Regions from separate parts of the Homo sapiens genome. Here region 1 is linked to region 2. The links are contacts of gene promoters, found by promoter capture Hi-C in blood cells and fetal thymus (Javierre and others, 2016). All regions are on one chromosome and are shown on one strand. The core of a region is centred on a gene start or on the middle of the fragment in contact, and the rest is flanking DNA. Distances in the headings are between cores, read along the strand shown. Region 1 has its middle 32 kb from the start of ARHGAP22. Region 2 holds the start of MAPK8 (mitogen-activated protein kinase 8).

Region 1 (5,828 bases), core at 578-3,077, 330 kb after region 2:
TCCCTCACCTTCTTCCTGGCCACCAGGATGCTGCTTCCTCCCACGCTTGTTTCTATGATAACTGGCAGGAAGTGTTATCTGCTAGCCAGCTCACCTGTTGAGAGAAGCCAGTTTGCACTAGTAGCTCAGTAGTATCATGGGTAGCTGAATGGGTACTTTCAGATTTGGGTGGCGGATTTGATGGGAGCAGCCAAAAGGTGCCATCAATGTCCCTAAAAGCAGAGGTACTGCTGTGAGTGAGCACTAAAGATGGGTCAGCTCAGATCTGGGTTGAGTCCTGTCTGCCACTAACTAGCTGTGAGCTTTTGGCAAGTCAGTAAACTTCAGATCTTCTGCTTCCTCATCTAGCCAACAGGGAAAAGTGCTCTGCCCCCACAGAGCTGGGCCATAGGAGAGGATAAGCTGCTGGGTGCAGAGGGCGGTGAGCCTGCACTGTGGTTTGCCCATTTCACAACCATTCCCAGAGTCAAATCATTTCTCCCAGATGTGCAGAAACAGAAACCATTGTAGGAAACTGGGTCTCTAAGAAGAGCCGCTGACTCAGCCCTTATTTGGTTCTGTGGCTGGGGGTGGGTGAGCCTGGGCTTCCGCTTGGCTCCCTAGAGGGTAGTGTGGCTGGCAGGGCATCTGTCTAGACACTCTCTGAGGCTCTGCCCAGCCTGTTCTTTGGAATAGACTCTCCTCTGCTTCTCAGGGCTGACAGCTCTGAGCCCAGGAAAGCAAGAGGGCTGAATTGTGTCCCCCGACTCCAGTTCATGATGAAGCCTAACCCCCACCGCCCCATACAGAAAGTGGCTGTATTTGGAGATAGGGCCTTTAAATATCAAAGTTAAAATGAGTGATTAAGTTAAAATGAGGTCATTAGGGTGGGCCCTAGTCCAATATGACTAGAGTTCTTATAAGCAGAGGAGATAAGGACACAGATACCAACTGTGTGAAGACACAGGAAGAAGGTGATATTTACAAGCCAAGGAGAGAGGAGAAAGAAGCTTGCTAACACATTGATCTTAGACTTCCAGCCTCCAGAATGGGAAAAAATACATGTATGTTGTGAAAGCCCTGGGGCCCGAGGTGCTTTGTCATGGCAGCCCGAGCAGACTCATGTACCTGCCCTCCCTCTTCCTCAGTGTGAACAAGGGAATTCCAGCACCCATGGGAGGCTCTTGGAGGCTAGGCTCCTTCTGGGTCCACCGTGAATGAAGCACTTCACCTTGTTTCTGGGCCTCTGTCTCTTGTTGCCCCCACCCCCACTTCTGCACTGGGCCTGGTGTTTCCCTGGACCCCGACTCCCTGTCTCCTCAGGCATGACTAGTTTCATACTCCTCCAAGGTTGGTAAGAGAAAAATGCCTGGGGTTTAGGTTATAGCTTGAAGCACAGCTTTGGGTGCTCCGTAACTTGTCCCAGCCCCTTGGCCAGCTCCAAGTTCAGCCACAGCTGTGGTGAAACGTCCCCTCTTAGGTGAGCCCACTGATGGCTTCCCGCTCCAGGCTCTCAGCCCTCGGCTTTCTCTGAAGCCACAGGGACCCTAAGCCCTGGGCAAACAAATGCAGTCCAGAAGGGCTGGGTGTCCACACCCCTGGGGTTGCCCTCAGCCAAGGGAGAAAGGGGGCCGGGTAACCCCCACCCTCTCCCCTTCCAGGCTTATGGCAGGTGAGTCTGCACTCTTCCCAGAGTCCCTGTGGAAGTGAGTCTTGGGACAGCAGCAACCTTCATTATGCCCCTCACACTGGCCTTCCCTCCTTCCTGGTGTCACTCTTTGCCCCATCAGTCCTGCTTCCTGGCATCACCTCCCAAATAAACCACCTGCACCCAAGCCCTTGTCTTAGGCTCTGCTATTGGACAACATAAACTTAGACTACTTCCTGGCTGGGGAAGCAGGATGGAAGGACTGCACTTTTGAGCTTCAGTTTTCTCCTCTGTAAAATGGGAACATTAATATCTTGCAAGCTGGCTACAGGAATTAAATGACATCACCCCTGTGGATATTGAAGAGAGTTGTAAACCGTGCAAGGTGATCTCAATGTTGTTATTTATTATTATTTTTAGTTTGGTGGTAGCATCAGGTCCTTACTCTCTCTCTCTTTTCATTAAAGAAAGAAGAAGGAAAATCTCCATCTTCAGACTCATTTCCCAGGGGTCCTGTGCTGCCAGGTGCAGGTGAACATCCTGGAGAGGCTTGGGGGTTAAGGGGTTAATGACATGGCTGCTCCTTCTTCCTCTGCCCTGCACAGCTTCAGCATTTCTCTGGTGGCTGTCGATAAAGGCATGTTAGCTGTGGGGACACTGCATGAAGGAGACATTCAGGGTGTCTGGGTCTTTCCAGCCCAGCCCTGCATCCATGCTGTCTGTGTGCCTGTGTCCCATGCTTGGTGCTTGTGCAGGGAGACTGGGGTGAGCAGGATGGAGGCCTTAGAGCTTGTGGTATGGCCCTGGTCCTCTTCCAGGAATGTCTGCTTGAGTCTGCCCACTGGGCTGCTCCTGCCCAGGCTCCAAGAGCCAACAGGGATTCTCCCTGCTCTGAGACCCTGCCCTGAATCCATGGGTTGCATCGGGGTCCTCCTGTTTCTTGCTGCTCCTTGTACCACCTGCACCACAGCCCTGCCCTTTTGCAGACCACGATCTCCTAGAGAGGAGGGGATATATCTTTACACGTGTTATGTGTGTCCAAGCTTTAGAGCCATGACTGCTGGCAAACAGTACCAGCTCAAGACCCATGGCTATAGTCATCGCTAGTAGGACAGTGGGAGACCAGTGAGGAGTTCTCACCTGAGGTCACCACAAAGAGGCCACGAAGTGGGCAGGCAAAGCCCAGACCTTGAGTGGCATGCAAAACCCAGAGTGCTGGGAGGGAAGTCAGAAGGGACAGGACAAAGGGTTCAGGAAGCAGAGCCACTCATAGAATCAGGATATGAAAGTAAAAGGTAACAAGTTGGAATAGTACATTGGGGTGGGCAGAAGACATATCAGGGAGGGCCGGAGTCTGAGAGGCTTTCTCATGATGGCCAGGACTTTAGCTTCATTCTGAGAGCTCCAGCGTGAAGGGCCAGAATGGGTGGTTAGGACAATCAGAAAAGCTGCCTGCATACACATTGCTGCCATCCCTGCCAGGCCAGTCTCTGAGAAGCTGATCTCCCCAGAAGCCAACCAGGCCTCTAGATGAATGCCACTGAGAGTTTACTGCCCTGGGCATCCATATTTCTGAAGCTGCAGATGGAGACAGGCTCCAACTATTGTGTCGAGGTGGGGGGCAAGGGGTAGAAAGGAGCCATGAATTATTGCTTGTGTGAGGCCACACAATAGGTGTCATTCATCACTCACAGAGCTGTTGTCCAGAGATGGCCGACAGGGGACACAGGTATACAGATGGATGGATGGATGGTGAATGAATGAGTGGCAGATGAGTAGCCAATGGATGAATGGTGAATGAGTGGGTGGATGGGTGGGTGGATGGACGGGTGGGTGAATGGGTGGATTTGTAGGTAGATGGATAGATGGTAGATGGGTGGGTAGATGGATGGATGGTAAAGAAATGAGTGGATGAATGACTGGTGGATGTATAAATGGATGGATGGATGGGTAAATGGATGGATGGATGGGTAGATGGATGGATAAATGGTGGATGGGTGGGTGAATGGATGGATGGCAAATGGGTGAATAGATGGATGGATAGATGGATAGATGGATGGTGGATGAGTGGATGGGTGGATGGATGAATTGTGGATGAATGGGTGAATGGATGGTGCTGGGATCAGTGAGACGGGATGAAAAGAAGGCAGAACCTGCTGGAAGGGTCAGTAAGAAAAGGCACAAAGTATCCTCACTTCACCTACCCCTTCACCTACATTCCCCTCCCAACAAGGATGTCTCCATCCTCCTCGCTGCTAAAGCCAGTAGGCTGGCATCAACTTACCTTCTTTCTCCCCCTTTTCCACATGCTGCCAGCCACTTGTGCATTCCATCTTCTTAGACTCTTATGTTTCTACCACCACTTTTTGGCCTATATTCTCATAAGCTCTCCCTTGGACTGCTTAAGTAGTCTCCTGCCTAGTAGCTCTCCCTGCTCTGGTCTCTTCTCCCTCTGCCCATCCACTACCCCTCCTAGAGCCATTCCCTTAGAATCTTAGAATGGCTTCCAATCTTCCACCGTTTTCCCCTAACAGAAACTACAGAATGAGGTCTGGTAGCTGCTTCGTAATGCAACTTGGCTAGGCTGAGTTACACTTCCCAGGATTCCCTTTTGTGTATCTTTCCTATAAGTCTGTGCCACGGGGAGATTCTTGGGGGGATTTGGGAGACATACATTGCTGCTGATCAGTGGAATCACCTCATCAGTGTGAAGCAGCAGCTGGGCCTGCCATTGTTCCACCTTCCCATGAAGCCTTGGGCAGCTTCTTCAACTCGCGGGCCAGGAGTGTGTGTGTTGTGTGTGTGTGTGTATGTTTAGCTTAATGATGAAGGGCCCTGGCTTCTGCAGGATTACCTTGTACCACTAAAACTAATCATCTCATTACCCAGCTAGAAACCCCAGACACCTGAGTGCCTCCCCTGCCCAGTACTGTCAAGTGTTGTCCATTTTTCTTCCCAGTATCTCTTGAACCTCATTTTCCCTCTACATTCTTACTTACTCAAGCCCTCAGGAAGGTCACCTGACCACCATTAGTCCCATCTCCATGCTATTTATTCATTCATTCAACAAACAAGTATTAAACATATATTATGTGCCAGGCATAATTCTAGGCACCGTGCAAAGAGCTCTATCTTTAAACTTCCCCTTCCCCTCCTAATTCTAGTGGTGCTTAATGAACAAAGGGATAATGGCAATAATGCCTGCAAGATCGTGCCTATATCCTAATAAGAAAGCGGATATGGGAAACTTGAAAAAAAGAAGTAAAAGGCAGGACTTCCAGCTATGGCTAAATGATGAAGTCAGCAAATTCTCTCCCAAAAACACAATCATAAATCTTGAAAAAACTGACATAAACAACCATTTCTGTACTCTGGAAATTGACCAAAGACATGCAACAATCAGAAAAGTAGTTATGCTTGAAAAACTTCTAAACTTTGAGTAAGAACAGAATGAGTCTGCTTTGCACTGTTGTACTGTTTGTTAGGGCAATTCCCATCCCACTTCTCTAAGCTCAGTCCTCACACAGGTTCTGTCAGGGTGGGGCATTGTCATGGGGAGCAGCAATTTTGCGCATGCAGTCCAAAGTTGCTTATTCAATTATGATTGTCAGTACTACTGACAATACTGGCAGCTAGTGAATGGGGAGGACCAATGCTCAATTAGTCTGAGGTTGCAGTCAAGGTTGGGGCAAATATATTCCTGGCTTGGACTGTATGCATGTGCAGTGGAGACCAAAGATAGCTCAAAGTATCCACACATTCTTGCCAACTCTAAGACTGAGGGCATGTGCAGAGGTTATATGAAAGGTCCAACAGAAAGTAAAAGCCAAGGCAGTCTTGAAAACAACCTGAACTTTGAGAGTATTTCCCTACCCATGCACAGATCTATGGGCAGAGAATAGAGGGCTTACGGGCTCATGGTTTGTATATGACATCTGTCTCATCACTGGCTGATTACTAAATTACACAGAAACAAGAGTGACCCCTAGGAAGGCAGGTTTAAAGGTACGAGCAAGAGTAAAGGCAAATATAACAGATATTAGTGGCTATGTTCTGTGAGGGAGACAGATTTCACAGATTTAGGCTAGGCAAGTTATTAAACAAATGAACAATTTAACAACAACATTAATCATGTGAGAAAATCAGAATTCAGCGTTCTTAAAATATGTTATCTAAAATGCCCACTTTCTAACAACCAAAA
Region 2 (6,101 bases), core at 2,189-4,688:
AGGCTTTAGTTGGTAAGTACCTTCCCACCAACCCAACTCCCCACCCCTGGGGTGAGGTCAGGGAATTAGGAAGTAAGTTGAAGTCTCAGCTTTCAGTTTCTGCACCCTGAACAGCTTGGTGATATTCACCTGACTACCTTAGCCAAAGAAACATCTTCAGTGCAATCCATTGTGTGTGGTCTGGGATGACAAGGGAAGAGATACTCTGGTGGAGTGCAACCTCTTCTTGAACATCCCTCAGGGCTCCAGCAGAGGCTGAGTTTGAAAGGCCTACAGTTCCTCTTCTCTCCTTTCCCCATCCCAGCCTCAGAGGTATCCAAAGACCAGGTGTCCCCAAGACAGCTCCCCTGGGACAAGAGACAAGAAACCTGAATTCACTATATTTTCCTCTTTTTCTGAGTCAGCCCCTTAATAGGTTAACAAGGAACCCTAACAGGTTGACAAGAAAGAATTGCATGAAAAGGAAGAAGAAGGCCCAACACTGCATCTGGGTTACAGAAAAGCATTTTGAATTTGCAGAATATCAGAGATAATTACATTCCATCAGAAATAGCAAAATGCTTTCTGAAATCAATCATACACACACACAAACACACAAACGCACATATGTAAATATGTGGAATGTTCTTTCTAGTTGTAGATAATCAGAAGCTGACCATGGTAGACTGATACTAAGTCAGAAGCTCACTCTGTGGAGTGAGACAGAGGCGGTTATTAACAATAGCATCACAGAACTGGGCGTGAAACTCTGGAGCTCTGCTCCCAGCAACTCCCCTCACTTCACAACAGCTCTAAGGGTTGTATTGTTTTTTGTTACCTCCAGGCCTTTAATTTGTCTGGTGAAGAGTAGGTGGTACCTCTGTCTGTGCACTCAATCACACCCCGTTCTCTCTGGAAACACACGTCTTCCTTCTCTTTTGTGTGTATTCAACCTCTCCCTCTCAACAGTCTTCCCATCAGATGTAAAATATGCTTGTGTCCTACTTCACTGCCCGACTCATCCATATTCACCACCTTTATTTTCTCACCTCCCATTCATTTCCCAGCCCACTCTAATTCACTTCTGGTTCTATTACTCCAGGATTCCAAGCCTCCTCTTATGTTTAATATTATTGATCAGCCCTTTCTTCTTGAACACCTCTCTCCTGGTTATCCTTCTATCTCCCTGGCAGCTCATCACAGACTCATCTTCCCCTTTGTGGCCCTTTAACACTGAAGTTCCCCAAGCCTGGTTGCAGGCCCTCTCCTCAGGCCTAGGCTGACCCATCTATCCCAAGGCTTCAAGGAATCACTCACTGTCAATGATTCGTCTCTTAACTAGCTGAACCTCAGCTCTGTATATCCAACCACCAACTTAACATCAGTTTTGGGCATCTCAAAAGCCTTCAAACAGCCAAACAGCCTGCTCTCATGATATTTTAATGCCAGTCTGGTCCTTTTCCAAGATTCCCATCTTGGTAAACCAGCACTAACATCCATCCTTGGCCACAAGCCAGAAACCTTTGAGTTTTCCTTGATGACTCCCTCTCCTTCATTGCCCCACATAACCCATCACTTGGAGAATGTGCAAGTTCTGCCCGTTGGACCTCCTAAATAATTCACAGATCTTTCCATGTCCATCAACTATTTCCATGACCATCACCCTAGATCAAGCTTCCACCTCTTACCGTCTAGGCTACTCCTACATCCACCTGGGCTCTTTCCAATAAGGAATCTTTTCAAGAAGCTATTCTGACCATGCCACACCCTTTGCTGAATATGTCAGGGGCTTCCCATTGCACTTAGGATAAAAAGATTTTCAACATGGCCAATATGGATGTCCTACGTTTGGTCCCTTTACCAATCTTCCTGACTTCATCTCATAGCTCCTTCTTCCTTGCTCCTCCAGCAGAGCTGGCCTTTCCTGAATTTCTCCATCTTATCCTGCTTAATCTCATCAGAGGACCTTTGCGTGCAAAGCTACCTCTAAAATATTCTCTGTCTAGTCAAACCTATTCCCAGCTCAAGTGACAGTTCCTCAGGGAAATCTTTTCTGGCCTTATTAACTAGTGTATTAATTGGTTTCATAGTATTATGTATCCTTAACAATTTGTATTATAAAACAGTGATAATTTTGCGTTTACTATTATTACTTTCATAGTACAGTGATTAAATCTGTAAACTCTACTGTATTGCCTGGCACTGAATGGGCATGCAATAAATAATTATTGCAGGAACAAAGGATGGCAGGAAGGAAATTAAGAAGGTTGAGAGGGAGGGAGAGAGGAAATGGGAAGAGAATGAATGAATAATCATCTGTATGTTCCCTTTCAGAATCACCAGAAACAGGCCAGCCCCACATGTAATAGGAAAGTAGTTTACCTGAAATCATTCATTTATTCAACAAATATTTATATATTCATTATTAAAGTAACTTACTTGTTTCTGATTGTGAACATAACTATTCCTCTCGGAAAACATGAGAAAATACCCAAAGTATAAACGAGAACCAAGTCACCCTTTATTCCATAGTCCAATGATGAACCATTGTTAACATAATTTGGTGTATTTCTTTCCAGGTTTTTTCTATGTGTATATATAGTATCTAAGTGGGACCATTCTATATATGACTTGTTTCTTGCTTCTTTCTCTTAATGATACATTGTGAACATGTTCCTATGTTGTTAAGAATTCCTTGAACACATGGCATTTAAATTGCTAAAATGTATTCTACCGAATGGTGTAGGTAGTTCAAACGCCTTTCCACCCGTTGTTGGATATTTAAAGGACTTGTCAATTTATCGCTTCTGTAACATTTACACGCTTTGTGGGGCCTCAGAAGTAAACCAGGTAATGCAAGGAATCTGGGAAGAGGTGGATTTGCAAGGAATCTCGGAGGAGGTGGATTTTGGAAAAACTGGAGGCAGCTTTTCCCGGGCAGCTGAAGAGAACACTTATCTCTCTGTAGGTTTCTGGGACCCGGACAGGTGTCCTCAGAATGGAACATATTGTCGGTCAAGGTAACCAGCTCTTCATCACTCAGGTGTGTGTACCGGAAGGGGGTGCCTGTTCGCTGCGCAGGTTAGGCCTAAGCGCACCTGCCCTTCAACCCTGTGCCGACGAGGCCCGAAGGCTTAAGCTCTGACCTGGCTACCGCCGCCAACCAGATGCGGTCCCCTGGGGCCACGCGCCGCCACGTGCCGCCACAGGGCCCGCCCCTCCCGCTCCAGGCCACGCCCCTCACCCACAGCCCTCGGAGGCTCTCTCCGCGGCTCCGCCTCCAAGCGACCTCCGCAAGTCCTCTCGTAACCCCTGGAGTAGCGCCGTCCCCGGGCGGCGGCCCCGCCCCCGCAATCCGGGCCCCGGGGCTGCCCCGCCCCGCCGGCCGCTCGGGAGGCGCGGGGGCGGGGCCCTGCGCGATGACGTGCGCGGGCGTGCGCGGTGACGGCCCGCGTCTCTGTTACTCAGCCGAGCGGCCGAGGCCGGACGACGCGGCTTGGATTGCGGAGCCGCGAGCAGCGCTGGGTAACGGCCGCGGCGACCACCCCGGACGGCCCCTGTCCCCGCTGGCGGGCTTCCCTGTCGCCGTTCGCTGCGCTGCCGGGTGAGTGCGGCGGACGCCGCAGGGCCGGGACGGCAGGCGGCCCCGTCGTGTTTATGTTATTGTGCCGCTGCCGCCGCCGCCGCCTTCTCCTCAGCCGTAACCCCCTCCTGGGAGTGGGGGCGGGAGCGCGCGGTGGGCGGGGGCGGCGCGGGAACAATAGCGGCGCGGAGGCGGGGGCCAGCCGAGGGGGCGTGGGGCTGCGGGACCTGGGTGCGCTCCGCTGCCCGCCAGCCCGCCTGCCGCCGCGAGCCCCGCCCGCCTGTCCTCTCGCGTCCTCTTCGCGTGGGTCCTGCCTCCGCGGCGGGAGAAGAAAATGGAGCGGGGGGGTGGGTGGCAAGTTCTGAAACACTTCGGCAAGGGTCGGACGGAGGTGTCTTTGCGGCCCGCCGCGCCCTGGCTGCCTCCGGGGCGGCGGGGAGCCGGGGAGAGCGCTTCTGCCGGCAGGTCCCCAAGCCTGCCCCGCGCCCATAGGGACCGTATTTTGCTTCTCGATGCTTTCTTTGTGCTAACGTTCTGGGCGAACGCAGGCAGCAGCGCTGAAAAGGGCCAGAGTGGCCTGCAGCTCTGGGCTGCAGGGCAGAGAGCCCAGGCCCGTGGCTCGGGTGGGAGGTGTCCATCCAGCTTGGCCCGAGCTTCGGTGGTCAGCGCGCATTTCTCTTGAGGGTCATCGGTGGTGACCTTTTGACTTTTTCACCCCACCCTCCCATCTCTTTGTCTCGCATTTGTGTTCCCGATTCAGAGATGGTAGAACCAAGTCCATTTTAAAGTACCCTGATGAACACTTTCCGTTTTTATTTCTGAAAGTTCCCTGCTTGGTCTTTACTGCGAATTTAATAACATGTTGACTACATGGCATTGTCCAGTGATTACTATTTTTACCTCTGAAATCCAGCGATCTTTCCAGTAGAATTCTGGTCCGTCAGTCCATTGTGTTTTGAGATAAGCATCCAGCAAGTACCTCCTTGGCAATTAGAACATCTGTTTTTTCATTCATTCATTCATTCAGCAGCTGTTTAGTACCGTACTCAGATGAAGAGGTTTGGTGTGAAGGTAAAGTATCCTTTCATGGAAGAGGATGCTTTGACTGAAGTATAATAGATGGACCTTTAAATGAGACAGTTACATAAGTGATGTCTGTTAAGGAAGGTATGGTTATATTCTGGGTCATTTTTTAAGCAGTATATCTGGAAGTTCAAGTGTAATAGGAAGTAGAATTAGATTTGGTCTAAATATACAACAGCTTTTATTTATTTCTAAATTTTATTTTTTCCAGTCTTGCAGCCTTACAGTCATTTGTAATGGTTACCTCAGATTCCCCTGCTGTGGTTAACGTTAAACCTAGGAGGTCAGATGCTCTAAGTGAACATGTTTAGTGCTGTGCCTGACAAAAGCAAGCAATCAAAATGGGACTTCCTTGAGGGCAGGCCTGTCTTGCATCTGTTTCTCCACCACCTAGCCTGGAATATAGTAAGTGTTCAATAAAAGTCGGATTGATGAAAAGCTCTTTGTAATTGATAATATTTAAAATCAAGCCTTAAAAAAAACCGTAATGTTCTCCATAAAGTTTTGGAAGCTTCATGCAACTGTCGCATCAGATGGCTAAATGGTCAGTTCATGTACATTATCTGTTATGATGACATGGGCTTTTGAATCACGTGTAGGTCATTCACTGTCCTAAAATAAAATCTTGTCTAAATATTTTTTTAATATGATAAATAAAGTAGGTTGTGGAGTGTGTGTTTCTGTGTATGTGCTAGTTTATGTGTGTCCGTGTGTGTGCATGTACGTAATCCACACACAGGCACTCATAAACTGGTATTTCAGTAGGGGTCTAAAATGATTGCATTTATAATTTTGTGAATATTATTTGAAAGTTTTTTGGTGACTCTTATTGTGGAAAATTGAGGACAAAACCACATAAATGTTTTATTAGAAATATTTCTAATATTTTAGAAATGTTTACTTGAAATGTTTGGTTTTAAGTTCTAACTTGTATTAACACAATTGGTACAAAATATGAGCCTAAAACTCAAAATAATTGATTTATCGAAGTTAAAGCTCTTTTCCACTTACTAAATACAGTTTAGCGTTTGTTTTGTATTTGAAAGAATATGAAATGAGTTAACTAATGAGTTTCTTATTATTTGCTGTAAAGTGGAAATGAAGAAATAAGAAAATAATACTTTTTTAAGATGATGGTTGAAAATCTTTGAGATACCAAAGTTTTATTGCTTTACCTAGTTAGGGTATGTCAGATTCTAGTAGGGGTTACTGACAATCCTTTGGCAGTAGCTCACAGGCTGTGTAAAGAACCAGAGTTGTGTTACTTTGTTTTCCAAATTGTTGGTTTTTAAAAATAGCTTTATTGCAATTTAATTGACATAAAATTCACCAGTTAGAGTGTATATATTTCGGTTTTTAGTATTTTCACAGTGTTGTGCCTTGATCACCATCACTAATTCCAGAACATTGTCATCACCCCAAGAAGAAACACCATATCCATTAGCAGTCACTCTGA

What was found. The method cuts DNA at HindIII sites, captures the fragments that hold promoters and counts their contacts. A CHiCAGO score of 5 or more calls a contact.
Region 1: a fragment that was not itself captured here is called in contact with the fragment with the promoter of MAPK8 in region 2 in 1 of 17 cell types (monocytes); the score reaches 5.8 in monocytes.

Annotation. Positions count from the first base shown.
Region 1 is chr10:48,633,979-48,639,806 of GRCh38, forward strand. It overlaps a transcript of ARHGAP22 not described here. Among named protein-coding and RNA genes, the nearest start is that of ARHGAP22, 32 kb to the left of the region's middle. The HindIII fragment of the contact is 1,681 bases long and covers 988-2,668 here.
Region 2 is chr10:48,303,239-48,309,339 of GRCh38, forward strand. It overlaps MAPK8 (mitogen-activated protein kinase 8), which reads left to right and starts at 3,439. Exons shown (of 12, transcript NM_001323329.2): 1 at 3,439-3,583. RefSeq lists a silencer at 3,070-4,019. The HindIII fragment of the contact is 3,503 bases long and covers 1,652-5,154 here.